Linked DNA regions of Homo sapiens: regions 1, 2 and 4 are each linked to region 3. The links are contacts of gene promoters, found by promoter capture Hi-C in human tissues and cell types (Jung and others, 2019). All regions are on one chromosome and are shown on one strand. Each heading gives the region's core, a stretch centred on a gene start or on the middle of the fragment in contact. The rest is flanking DNA. Distances are from core to core; before and after follow the strand shown.

Region 1 (3,652 bases), core at 976-3,475, 66 kb after region 3:
CCCATGTTTATTGGAGTAGTTGCCCCATAACTAGGGCAGTACCCAGTCCACCACACACTTCACCAGTTCTTACTGCCTTTTCCACACTAAGGAAGGCCAAGCAGCAGTTGTCATTTAGTATCTTGTGGTTCTTTCTTTGTTTTTCTTTCTCTGTCTTTTTCTCTTTTTAATTCTGGGTCCACTTCACTCCTTTACATTACAAACCTGGCACCTCAGGCTATTAAATTTGTCCTGAAACTGTATGTCACTATGTCTCATAAAATTTCATATCCAGAACTAAGCACAATAGACCACTTTTAGACCACCCTCTTTGATTCTGATGTTATATTGCTATATAAAAATAAAAATTGCATTACATTTTTTGACATCCCAAGTAAGCTTACAGTGAATTCACCATCAAGTAAAATTCTCAAGGCTGAAGCCCTGCATGCCACACAGCTGGAATTCCTTGAAAACCACCTGCAGACTCAACATTTCCCTACATCCTAGTGGGATACTTGGAGCTCTAGCTAACTGTGAGACTAAACATAAGTCACCCCTGCAATGACCCACAGCTATGTTCTAATAACAGCTTTTACCTTATTCTCACTTGAATCTTTATTCTGATGATTTGATCTTTGCCTATTTATTAATACCTATGCAGAAGCTCCTGCTTTATATTTTGCCATATCAGTACATGTGCCTGGTCCCTACACCCTAGCAGAGTAACTGATACTGTTACTGGCTTTAGACAGCAAGCTTGTGTCTATTTCAAAATGAATCTTATGGCTAGATTTGCCTGTTAGTCTGACATTGCCTTTTACCATTGTTTCTGTTCTATCTCTTGGGTGGATGTGCCAGCCCCTGCAAAGGACTCTCATCCCCCAAAGTCAACCCTGTATCTAGCAGACAGGGCCAGATGAAGTTCCTAGGCATTAATACTTATCTGCATGGTGCTCTGTTAAATATATCACACTTACTTTTTTGTGCAAATAGTTAAGTGATTCTTTGTACTGTAACAGTTAAAATTTGTTTTAATTATAAATAATAATATATATCAGTGGTATACTCAGTAATGTAAGTATACTGTATAACTAGTTTTATATTAGCATAGTGTTACATTCCCAAAATTTTCACAAAAGACCTTTACACGGTTCACGTTTTCCAAATGTTCTTTCCTTTCAATTACCATCAACCTCCATGCTGCTCACTTTAGCACTAAACTACAGCTGATGCTTGGAATTTTTGAACCAAGAACTTTACAAATGTTCCTACCACATTTACCGAAATTCTTCCTTTCACTTTATAAACCCCTTTCAACCTTGATTTAGTCACTCAGCATTTTACTTATGAATTCTAGTTTTAAAGCTTCTGAAATATAGATAATTATCCCCTGATTATCTACAAAGTAAAGCAAACTTGGATAGCGACTTGTGGCTCTCCTCTATAAATAATTCTCTGGGTTAATATTTTAATGTTCAAAGGTAAATTTGAATTGCGGCATTTTAAAACTCTTAGTTACAATTTATTAATCAATAAAATCAAATAGTTCAGGCAGAAATGATAAGAATCTGGTATAAGTGGTCTAACTAAATATTTGAGTTGTAGAATTCACAGAACTTGCTAACAACCCCATGCCACTCCATAGAAGGTACCAAGTTCAAATAGTCCCCTAGATAAATTTTGAAAAACATTAAACTTTTCCAAAACACACACCAGTGGATTTCAACCGGAGGTGATTGTTTGCCAAAGGACATTTGTCAATGTCTGAAAAACTTTTTTGATTGTTACAACTGGGCAAGGTGACAGGAAGTGGGGTTAGGTGTTCCTAATGGCTTCTAGTAGGTACAGGCTAGATATGCTGCTCAACATTTTGTCACACATAGGACAGCCCCTACAGCAAAAAATTATCAACCCCATAATCAAAAGTGCCAACGTTGAGAAACCCTGGCATAGAGAAAAATAATGATTAGAAAGCACATTCTTAGTTTATATTCAAAGAGAAATGAAATTCCAAAACTAAAAACTACCAAAATGGCTATAACAAAATTATGTGTAAAGCCTACTTACAATTGTCTATGCAAATGCTACAATAAAGTATGAACGATTCTAATGCTCTTACTGAAATAATAATCATGAAAAAGGTTTTATTTCATAAGCAGATGGATAATTCAACAAAAGCAATCTGATGATAATATCTCATTTTATTAAACAATAAAAACAACTAGATCTCAATACATCCCAAACAGCATTTCAAAAAAATTAATATACAATTCTAATTTAAAAATTCAATTCTCATGCCTATAATCCCAGCACTTTGGGAGGCTGAGGTGGGCAGATCACGAGGTCAAGAGATTGAGACCATCCTGGCCAACATGGTGAAAGCCTGTCTCTACTAAAAGTACAAAATTAGTTGGGCATGGTGGTGCACACCTGTTGTCCCAGCTACTCAGGAGGCTGAGGCAGGAGAATCACTTGAACCCGGGAAATGGAGGTTGCAGTGAGCCGAGATCGCGCCACTGCACTCCAGACTGGTGACAGAGCAAGACTCTGTCTCAAAAAAAATAATAAATAAATGAATAAATAAATAAATAAACAAGCAATCCTAGTCTAGTGATTGAAATAATCTTTATTAATATGGTAAAAAGCATTTGTGTATGTGTGTGTGTTTATAATTAGGGATTATACTCCATAATGTAAAGTCTATATACTTGATATAAAAACATGCACAAAATCATGTTGAATAATGAACTACTAGAGGCATTTCTGTTAAAATTAGAAATTTAAAAGTGTGAAAATTACCAGTATATTAGGTTATATTCTATAATGTAATAAGACAAGAAAATATGTATTAACATGAGTTTTATACGGAAGAGACAAAACAAGCAGTACCTACAGATAATATTATTGAATGCCTAGAAAATTCAAGAAGATAGATTCCAATGATTGAAAGAATACAAAAAAAATTATTAAAGCAATATTTTAAAAATTATAAATTTACTTAATTCAAGAAATAACCAACTTATCACAAGTTAAAATGCCTTATTTGATTCACACTGATAATCAAGATAATAAGCTTAAAATAGAGGCTATCTTTTGCTTTTGATTACCCACTCTCTCTTCCTCCCCTTCCTATGGCAACATCCCAATTTTATGGTGCAGAACTAAAGATGCCCCTCACATGCTGCTATCTAGATCTTCAGAGTTACTCTGGCCATCTATTTTTCCTAAATTCATTATTTTTCTTTGTTTATAGAGATACCCTATAAAGGTTCAATTGATTTGAAATTGTTTGTTACGGTAATTTTAGTGATTATAACCAAAGAACTAAACAAGTGAGATATGAAGGAGCAAAGGAGAGAAAATTTCAATGACAAAAACAAACTCAAACGTGAATTATTGGGTTTATATTGTGCCTGGATGGAGAGACCTAATCAGTAAAGGTGTAAGTTTTTTTTGCAAATAATGATTACAATTCCATGTTATCACAATTCCGCTATTAGGATGTGACCCTTAACTATTTAATATGGTATTTTATTTTTAAAATAAATTCCAGAAAATAGGGCAATTTTTAGAGGTATAATGCAAAGGATCTGCCTATCAGATAATAAAACAAATCAGATAAGCCCTTTTTATTGCAGGAAGAAGCCAAAATAAACAGAGATGAACAGAC
Region 2 (3,611 bases), core at 846-3,345, 110 kb after region 3:
AAAAGGAGGGACTCCTCCCTAACTCATTTTATGAGGCCAGCATCATTCTGATACTAAAACCTGGCAGGGACACAACAAAAAAATAAAACTTAAGACCAATATCACTGATGAATATCGATGTGAAAATCCTCAATAAAATACTGGGAAAACAAATCCAGCAGCATATCAAAAACCTTACCTACCACGATCAAGTTGGCTTCATCCCTGGGATGCAAGGCTGGTTCAACATACACAGATCAATAAACATAATCCATCACATAAACAGAACCAATGACAAAAACCACATGATTATCTCAATAGATGCAGAAAAGGCCCTTGATAAAATGCAACAGGGCTTCATGTTAAAAACTTAATAAACTAGGTATTCATGGAGCATATCTCCAAATAATAACTATGACAAACCCATAGCCAATATCATACTGAATGGGCAAGAGCTGACAGCATTCCCTTTGGAAATTGGCACAAAACAAGGATGCCTTCTCTCACCACTCCTATTAAACATAGTATTGGAAGTTCAGGCCAGGGCAATCAGGCAAGAGAAAGAAATAGAGGGTATTCAAATAGGAAGAGAGGAAGTCAAGTTGTCTCTGTTTGCAGATGACATGATTTTCTATTTAGAAAACCCTATCATCTCAGCCTAAAAACTTCTTGAACTGATAAGAAACTTCAGCAAAGTCTCAAGATACAGTTGAATTATCAGTGCCTGGTATATAGTACACACTTAATAAGTATTATTCTTATTCTAAGTTATATAAGTTAGAAAGTCTCACTTTACACATGATGATATCAATTTCACCAGCCAAGTCAAAGATGAACAAATGTGTTTTCAAGTGTGTATAAAATATGCGGTTATGTTTTAAATGTTCTCTTCAGCTCTAAAAAATTCTTTCTTGTGGAATTTTTAGGCCTTGAACAGTTCTAGAATATTACAATGTGCTGTCCTCATTTTACTTTCACCCCGGGTTGAGAGGAAATTATTACTCCTTTATCTTAGCCACAGATATTTCCTGGCCTTTGGTCATTTTAGGAATTCTCTATTTTCACAACTCTCACAACAGCTGTTTTTAACAATCTAAGTCTCACACCACAGCCTAAAAACAAACAAAAAAAATCAAGTACAAATTTATCACTAAAACAATTTACATTATTGACAACCCTAAATTTATTAAAATGAAAGAAAGACATCAATGTTACTGAAGACAGCCACAAAGATGGTACTAATTTTAGTCTAAGCATTTGGAAAGATTTTTTTTCTTTAGTTCTGCAGATGCATGGTCAACAGAAGCAGAAAACTCGTTTGTATTTTCCTGTTTTATCTATAGCTTTATAAAGAGAGGAATTCCCATTTTGTTGCCACCATTCAATTTCATGTGGTCAGAGTTGTCAACACGAAAGTTCCCATTGTAATGTTCGTTGTCCTGGTACTAGTTTACCTACAGTTTTGTTCACTCAGAACACCAACTTGCTAGTCTTGCAGAAATAGTTTTTCCAGCACAAAATATAGTCACCTCTGTCTCTGAGAAGTTTGACTTGACCATGCTTTCTTTATCTGCTCTTAGGAAAATCTCTAGAGAGTTGGCTTATTATGATATGGCCCTTTAGATTTCTTGTGTAATTTTTTATTTTTTAAATAAACTTTTTCTTTTCTTTTTTTTTTTTTTTTTGAGATGGAGTTTCGCTCTTGTTGCCCAGGCTGGAGTGCAACGGCATGATCTCAGCTCACTGCAACCTCTGCCTCACAGGTCCAAGCAATTCTCCTGCCTCAGACTCCCAAGTAGCTGAGATTACAGGTGCCCACCACCACACCCAACTAATTTTTTTGTATGTTTTTTTCAGTAGAGATGGGGTTTCACCATGTCAGCCAGGCTAGTCTCGAACTCCTGAGCTCAGGTGATCCACCCTCATCGGCCTCCCAAAGTGCTGGGATTACAGGCGTGAGCCACGACACCTGGTTATGAACTTTTTCTTCCTCATGAGTAGTTCATAGCAGAGTTTAAATATGCTTGCCCATGTAGTATTTAACATCGTATATTGTGATATTTCTCAGGTTTTCCTTTCGTGTGACTTTTTTCAAAAAAATTTTTTTTTCTTTATGTGGTAGTTTATACTAAATTTTCCACAGATTCTTTTGAGTGTCTTTTCACTGTCATAACATGGGCTACTAAAGCCAGTCTGGAGAGTAGGTGAGCCGATACGAAACATAGCATCATTGCTTCTGAAAAGTAAATATAGTGCTGTAAAGAAAGCTCTAGTCAAATTAGCAAATATTTTCCCAATAATTAATTTATTCCTGCGTCACCAACGAGAAAATTGAGGTATAGAAATGCTTTTTATGGTGTTTTTTGTTTGTTTGTTTTTGAGACAGGCTGGAGTGCAGTGGCACAATCTCAGCTCACTGCAACCTCCGCCTCCCAGGTTCAAGCGATTCTCCTGCCTCAGCCTCTCAAGTAGCTGGGACCACAGGCGCCCACCACCATGCCTGGCTAATTCCTGTACTTTTATCAGAGACAGGGTTTCACCATATTGGCCAGGCTGGTCTCAAACTCCTGACCCTTGTGATCCTCCAGCCCCGGCCTCCCAAAGTGATGTGATTACAGGCGTGAGCCACTGCGCCTAACCAAGGTATAGAAATGTTAAGAAATGAGTCTAAACTTATTCAAAAAGAAAGTGTAGCACCATGACCTACTGCCAGGTCTTATCGACTTTGTAAGCTTTTTCTAGTTAACAACTCCCATCAACTATTTCAAGACTATTTTGCTTTCTCATATCTGATCCTATGTCTCTGGTAGATGTTAATTGATCGTAGCACCCTTTCCAGCTGAATCTGAACTTAACCTCTCAATCTTTCTCAGAAGAAATGAGTACAGAGACACTAGCAATTGGCTAGAGTTAGCACCGAAACAGAAAGCTAGTTTTTAATCACAACATTAGAATGCATTCCCTCGCTGAAATGATTTATGTCTTTATTTACCTGTTTGCAAAATGGGAGTACTGGACTAGAAAATCTCTAACATTTTTGCCACACTACAATTTTGTGAAGATCCCAAATCTGTATATTACCAGAAAATATATAATTTAGAAATTCCTAAGTATTTTCCATAGAAAATATATTTGAATTACAGTATGTTTACGATATGAAAGTAGAATTACCCATGAACTTGCATTCATTTTATAACTTTCAAATATTATTCCACAGGATAGAAATTTCTCATGCTTGATCACAGCCCAAAGATAATTATGTCCTGGAAAACACACCGTATCTTTATTCATCTAGAAGTCCTGTCCCGCATGTGAAGAAATAGGGGAAAAAATGAAGAGCCACACACAGTTGAAATAGACCATGCGTCTGGTCTTTACTGAGGCATATTCTCCTGAGACTAACCATTTGATATATGTTTTACAAATTGCATTTTTAATGGAGTATATGAAGTATGAGGTCACATGAAATTCTTAGGTTATTTCTTTGAAGTCTGATGTTTTACAAATAATGCCAATACTGATTTAGGAATCTTTCAAAATTACATAACTGCGGTTTAGTTTTGCTTTTTAACCTAGAGGTATAATCTTTTTTCCCTTTCAAAAGACAATAGCAAAGCTCTGCTCTGAGAAAT
Region 3 (3,528 bases), core at 604-3,103:
GGTTGATCTACTGTTTGGGTTTTCCACACTGCGTTCCCCTTGCGTTAGCACAGATGAATTCAGGTAACCAGATTCTACTTAAGAACAGTGACATTTTAATCTTTAAAAATGAAAACCCTCAAAATATTAGCCATTATTTCAATTTAAGCTCAAAATCCCCTAAACCAGCAGTCATCTGTGAAGCATTTTTTTCTTCTTCTTCTTGAGATGGAGTCTTGCTCCGTTCCCCAGGCTGAAGTGCGGTGACACAATCTCGGCTCACTGCAACCCCCACCTCCCAGGTTCAAGAGAGTCTCCTGCCTCAGCCTCCCAAGTAGGTGGGACTACAGGTGCCTGCCACCACGCCTGGCTAATTTTTTGTATTTTTAGTAGAGACAGGGTTTCACCTTGTTAGCTAGGATGGTCTCAATCTCCTGACCTCGTGATCTGCCCGCCTCGGCCTCCCAAAGTGCTGGGATTACAGGCGTGAGCCACCGCACCCGACCCTGTGAAGCGATTTTAACATGACACATGTCAAGCATGATAACCTGCTTGATTTGAACTCACTGCTTTTTCACTTCTTCAGAAATCTTACCTAAATGCTTTCAGAGTGACCCTTTCCAAACAGTGTCATTTTCCAAACGGGCCACTTCACAAAATAAAAGAAAACCAGGTGGGTTGAATGATTTTCCTTTGCATTTAGAAAATTCTTGAGTTTTTTAACCCTTGTACCATATCAAAAACTAGATCAAAGGTCTGATAAATGTCATATTTACCATCTCAAAAGATACAGCCAGTTCTCTTTTTTATATTGTAAAAAGGCCATGTCTCCATCTGGGCATTTGTTCCCACTCTTTTATTCCCCTGCGCCTACCCTTGATATTCACTGCCTTCTCCCGTTGGCACCTCAGCCTCTACAATGATACAACAAAATACAGATGTTTCCTCTTGCCCTGATAACAAGAGAAACTTCCCAGAGCAGCAAACGAGATCTCTAAATCTCCAAGCAATATGAACTTTCAAGCAACTCCTCCCCAAACGGCAAATCCAAGGGAGAAAGTGGGAGACAGAGATGGGCAGTTCTGCAGCTTTAATCAAAGTCTCCGTGCACTGCAGTTTCAAAGGGCAGGCATCCGTACCCAGAAAGAATAAGATCTTTAAAAAGAGGCTTTCTCTTTCATTTTTATGATATGCAAATACTCAGAGTTTATTCTGCCTCCTCAAAATGAAAACCTGTACAAAGTCGTAATTTGGCTCCAAATGTTGACTAGGTGATGTGGAGTAGTGCATTATCATGAAAAATTGTTCTCTGGAAAAGGATGACTTCCTGCCGGACTGACCATCACTCTTGCCTCTTCAGACCAGACCCTCTCTTTAGCTTTAAACTTGTCCAAAGCAGCCAAGTTCAGCCAGTATTAGCACTTCCTCCCTATCTCATAATCCACAACTATTAGGCTAAGTGGGACGGGGCTTGGGTTGGAGGTGGAGGGGAGTTGAGGGAAAGTTAATTATCATTTTAAATGCTATTCAAACAACAACAAAAAAGAATGTCAAAAAAAGCATAATGAGAGCTTTTAGAAACCTATACTACATACTGAGTTCAGAAAGGATGCTGGGAATAGGGTAAAAAGAGGGTGTTAAAAGGAATAGGGAAGGTTAGCAGGAGAGTTAAATACTAATACTAATAATGAAGAAGAAGAAGGGAACTAACCTGCATAGGGGATGGCGATGGGGAGCAGGAGGAGATGCAGGAGGACATGCTGCAGCAGCAGGGCTGGCAGGAGTTTGGTCACCCACATGGTGCTGCTGGACGGGCTGGCGGATCCCTCTGGAGGAGATGCCTGGGTGAAAGAATCCTGTTCGGAGTCAGTGCCTAAAAGAGCCAGTCGGCTCTGAGCTGCTTTTTATTGCGATGAGCTAAGTTTGTTGTGTGATTAACTGGAAAGATCTAGGTCTGAACTCCCTCTTACGGTAAGAAACTGTTTAACAACAGCCCTTTACTCTCTTCCAGCCCCCTCCTTTCCTCACTCGCCCCCCCTTCAACAGCACCAAACAGATCCCTGCAACCCCCCCCATTCCCCGCCTCCCCCCAACCCCACGCTTAGGAAAGAAACTTACAAAGAAAAGGTCACCTGGCCTGAGGCCAGCTTCAATTTGGAAGCTGGAGCTCCAGATCCCAGTGGCTCCTATCCGAGTAAGGAAGGGAGGAGCAAGGCTGAGCCCAATGGCTAAATCAAGGCACAGGCAGGGGACCAATTCGCTCAATTTAAACAGGAAAATACATGTGTTTATATATCTATTTGGGAAAAGAGGAAGGGGAAGCAGCATAAGAAGAAAGCGAAGAGCTGTCTTTCAGCCAAATGTGCCCCAGCTCCTAATCTGTCTAGTTTTCCTGCTAGAGCAACTGAGGGATTCAAAACACTGACACAGGTTCTCTAGGGGTTTAGAGACCTGGGAGAGGTGGGAGCGGGGCCAGGGAGGAGAGCCCAGGCACGTCCAGCCCAGGTAGAAAGAGGTTAGTTAAGAAAAGGGTGTGGTATTGTGGGGCCAAAATAAGCAAGCAAAACAAAAGCACGCAGATTGTCAGATGAAAAAATTGCCCCTGCCCCATGGGCTCAGAGCAGGCAGCTTTTTTTTTTTTTTTTTTTTTTTTTTTTTTTCACAAACTGCCAAACTCACGAAATACCACACATTTACCCAAAGTATACAAAATAAACTTGTCTGATCTGACTTTTTAAGAGAAAGTCCAAGAAACAGTCATTGTCCATAGCCTGTCCCTGACAGGTAAATATGCCATGTGGACTTGTACAGGCACACACGTGCACACAACACATTCACACATGTTGGTGTGTATGTACGTATACACTGGTTAGGACTGACTTTCACCGGAAATCCCTCAAGCTGTTTGAATTCGTGAGTACTGAATATGCCTCTCTTTTCCAGCTTCATCTGCCTGTACACGACAGCCAGCTTCCCAAAGTGTAAGTGGAAAGATGAGGAGCTTGTATGGGCATGGGGGGACTCCTAGGTATCAAATCCTTGTGAGATCATTGCCCAGACCCCTCACTTGATTCAGAGAATTTGTCTTTGCACCCAGAGGTGGATGCTCTGGTAACTTTAAGCAAGAGCCTGCTTTATTTCTAATGGATGCTGAGGGATACTTGCCCCTGTATCTCTCTGAGATGGATATTAGTAGAGAACAGTGCCCCTGTCCACAGAGGAAAAGAAAGCAGGCCAAATGTGGGAATGACTAGAGCGGTGGGTAGCTGTACAGAAGTGATTGTGGGGCTGAATTAAACTCATCCACAGAACAGCCTTCCCTCCACATACCACCTTCATTTGTCCTCCAGCTCCCTTACCCCCACTTTCAGGGAAAAACAACCTGCCTGATAAGTCCCTGAGGTTGTGGGATATCTAGAGAAGCTAGGGATTAAGAGAATTCCTTTTGAGGGATCTATTTTATATGACCCGTTTCTATTGCTAATCCTTCTCTTTTATCATTTTCTCCTTACTTAAAAATCATTTGTCAGCCTCTGTCTGGTGTCCCCA
Region 4 (3,259 bases), core at 746-3,245, 74 kb before region 3:
ATGTGTACATATATCAAACATCATGTTTTACACCTTAAATATATACAATTTTTATTTGTCAATCATACCTCAATAAGGCTGATAAAAAAGACATTACTGAGGAAGTTTAGAAGTAAAAAGAACAAGAATAAAAATGGGACATTGTGAATGTGGAAGAACTGCATTCTCTGTGCTTGTTAATTTTGGGATGACTCATTGTATTTGGTTTGTAAGTGGATTTTGGAAATACAAGTGATTGTAATTAAGAGGAAAGAGGCTAATAAAGAAGAATAATGCTTTAGATCTTTTTGTTGACCTCACTTCTAAGGACATGTAAATGCCTTCAGAAAACTTCTCCCAGCTCCCCTCAACTTCTTTTTTAATCTTTTTTTTTCCTTTTTCTTCTTTCATTTTTATTTTCTTTCATAATCTTTACGTGTCTTTCTTTTCCTTGGTGCCCTGTTTCTAGAGCTGGAAATTTAGGCAGAGGAGGGGATGTTGTAAACACTAGAAAGATTTTAAAAAACAGGCAATTTTTTTAGCTTTAGTACTGTTAAAATAGGACTACCTTCACAGTTTTGTGTAATCAATTTTGGTTCTGTATTATTGATAGGAAAGTTCCTATAGATGGTACGTATATGTCAAGAAAAATGTGCATCAACTCCTCCTGTCTGAATTTTACTCAAAGTAAGTAGAAAAGAGTAAATCATGTAAAAAAGAAGTTTGATCTGGGAAAATTTTCTGTGAGATGCTTTTGTAGAGAAAACATATTGTACATTATAAAGACATAGAAATCTCAAACCATGTAGTAATAACTGCCTCTCATTTAGAAAGTAAATTTGGAAATCAAGTTTTTCCGGACTGCATTTATCAGAACTCTAGTGTCTTAAGACGAAATGAAATATTGGCTCTGTAATTGTAAGGGGGTTCTGTAATACAGTAAATCTGAAGAATGTCCTCTACCATACTCTCTCATGGAGCTTCAAGACACATATGAGCATCTAAAGGCTCTTAACTATCCCACAGCAAAGTGGCCTGTATAAAGCATCCCAGCATCTCCAAAGCTTACTTAAGCCTTGAACATTTTGTTCTTCTCAGTATAGCTTTTAAGGATCCTGCAAAAGACCAGTTTGGTTAAAGCTTATGAAAGTCATTAAAGAAATATTTCCTTCTTTAGAAAACGTTTGTAGTTAGAGATTCTGTTCTTCTTGTTCATTCACATATTCTGCAACCTTCACTATTGGGAAGTACTGCCTGGTACCTAAACTATCTGATTGAAATGTCAATCTTATTTTTCACAAATTCTTACTTTTTTAACCAAAAGGACCTGAGCATTTCCTCTCAGAAAGACTTTTTGGACAACTGAAGAAACATATTTAATCATATTTGCACCTTCTCTTCTCTAATCTAGATATCTTTAATCACTTATTTCATTAAGTCAATTTTCCACGTGTTACATTACTCATTATTTTTAATAGGATATAAATTCTTTGTTTTACGGCACAACAATATATTTTGAGCTATTACTACATTTAGGTTTTAATTCATCTAAAAAGTCAGAAACTTGAAAACCTCACACTTTTGTAAAGCTTTAAAACTACATGAAAAATAATTAATATGAAAATCCATCTGCCTTTGGTTCACCTCATTTCCTTGCAACATGCTACGCATGTTCATTTCTCTCAGTTAAGAAAACTCATCAAATGAAAACCTCTTGTTCCTTAAGTAATGATACTGTGAAACTTCTCAATGCACAACAGATTGGATATTTGCACGTATATAATGAGTGGACTATTGTGGACTCAGGATATTTTTGCAATAATTTATCCTTTAACTTTATCCTCCAATGTTATGACATCAACCTTTCATGGAAGAATCTTTTTTCCAGATGGGAAAAAGTATTCACTAGCATAATCTAAACTCTATTAGTTTGATAAAACAATATATTTATCCATAAGCAAATTGAAATTTAATTTTTTATTTCTATTTTTAATAACCGCATTGCAAATATAAATGTATAAACTCTCTAAAGTTAATAATTTCTCTTTTCCAGCTGCATTGTCTATTGTATAAATACAATAAAATATTTTAAAATAGCCCCACTTACTAATTCAAATCTAAATAATGCAACTAAATATAAAATCTTAAAATTCTTAATCCTCATTGAGAGTTGCATAATTTTTACAAAAATCCCAAATGTCTTGTTAACATTGATAAGGCTTCAAGAAGAGGGTGAATTATAGAATATTAATAATTATAAAATGTATATTGGATACCATAATATGTGAAGCACTGTACAAAATAGTGTGCAAATATTACTAATATGACAATGCTAAATGTCTTCAAGGAGCTCAAACTCACTGGAGGTGATTGCACATTGAAACAAAGCAGAATAGCTGGGCGTGGTGGCTCATGCCTGTAATCTCAGCACTTTGGGAGGACAAGGTGGGTAGATCACAAGGTCAGGAGTTCAAGACCAGCCTGGCCAAGATGGTGAAACACCGTCTCTACTAAAAATGCAAAAATTAGCCGGGCATGGCGGCATGCATCTGTAATCCCAGCTACTCAGGTAGTTGATGAAGGAATTGCCTAAACCCAGGAAGTGGAGGTTGCAGTGAGCCGAGATCATGCCACTGCACTCCAGCCTGGGCAACAGAGCGAGACTCCATCTCAAAAAAAAAAAAAATTAAAAAAACAAAGCAGAATAAATCGAAACTGATCTAATTCAGTCATACACACACTATTGTAACAAATGAAAAGAAAGCATCAACAATTCACAATTGTCAAATCTTGGAAACAACCCAAATGCCCATCAATGAGTAGATGAAGAAACTGTGATGTGTGTATGTATATAGATGGAATACTATATCTATACATATGGTATACATATATATGGTGAGAGAGATATATATGTGTGTATATGTATATATTTATATATACATATATAGATATGTATATATGAATGATGGAATACTACACAGCCATAAAAAGGAATGAATGAACAGCATTTGCAGTGACCTGGGTGAATTTGGAGACTATTATTCTAAGTGAAGTAGCTCAGGAATGGAAAATCAAACATCGTATGTTCTCACCAATATGTGGATGCTAAGCTATGAGGACGCAAAGGCATAAGAATGATGCAATGGACTTTGGGGGCTTGGGGGGAAGAGTGGGAGGGTGGTGAGGGATAAAAGACTATAAATATGGTGCAGTGTATACTGCTCAGGTGATGAGTGCACCAAAATTTTGCAAATCACCACTAAAGAACTTACTCATTTAA

Evidence for each region. The method cuts DNA at HindIII sites, captures the fragments that hold promoters and counts their contacts. A contact is called where the count stands out against the background at its distance.
Region 1: a contact is called between a fragment that was not itself captured here and the fragment with the promoter of HGF in region 3, in 3 of the 25 tissues and cell types used here (dorsolateral prefrontal cortex, hippocampus and lymphoblastoid cells).
Region 2: a fragment that was not itself captured here is called in contact with the fragment with the promoter of HGF in region 3 in 2 of the 25 tissues and cell types used here (IMR-90 fibroblasts and lymphoblastoid cells).
Region 4: a fragment that was not itself captured here is called in contact with the fragment with the promoter of HGF in region 3 in 2 of the 25 tissues and cell types used here (bladder and small bowel).

Annotation. Positions count from the first base shown.
Region 1 is chr7:81,833,782-81,837,433 of GRCh38, forward strand. No RefSeq gene overlaps it. Among named protein-coding and RNA genes, the nearest start is that of HGF, 66 kb to the left of the region's middle. The HindIII fragment of the contact is 3,334 bases long and covers 559-3,652 here.
Region 2 is chr7:81,881,309-81,884,919 of GRCh38, forward strand. No RefSeq gene overlaps it. Among named protein-coding and RNA genes, the nearest start is that of HGF, 110 kb to the left of the region's middle. The HindIII fragment of the contact is 4,216 bases long and covers 1-3,611 here.
Region 3 is chr7:81,768,194-81,771,721 of GRCh38, forward strand. It overlaps HGF (hepatocyte growth factor), which reads right to left and starts at 1,854. Exons shown (of 18, transcript NM_000601.6): 1 at 1,691-1,854. The coding sequence starts at 1,778. The HindIII fragment of the contact is 8,838 bases long and covers 1-3,528 here.
Region 4 is chr7:81,693,878-81,697,136 of GRCh38, forward strand. No RefSeq gene overlaps it. Among named protein-coding and RNA genes, the nearest start is that of HGF, 75 kb to the right of the region's middle. The HindIII fragment of the contact is 5,057 bases long and covers 1-3,259 here.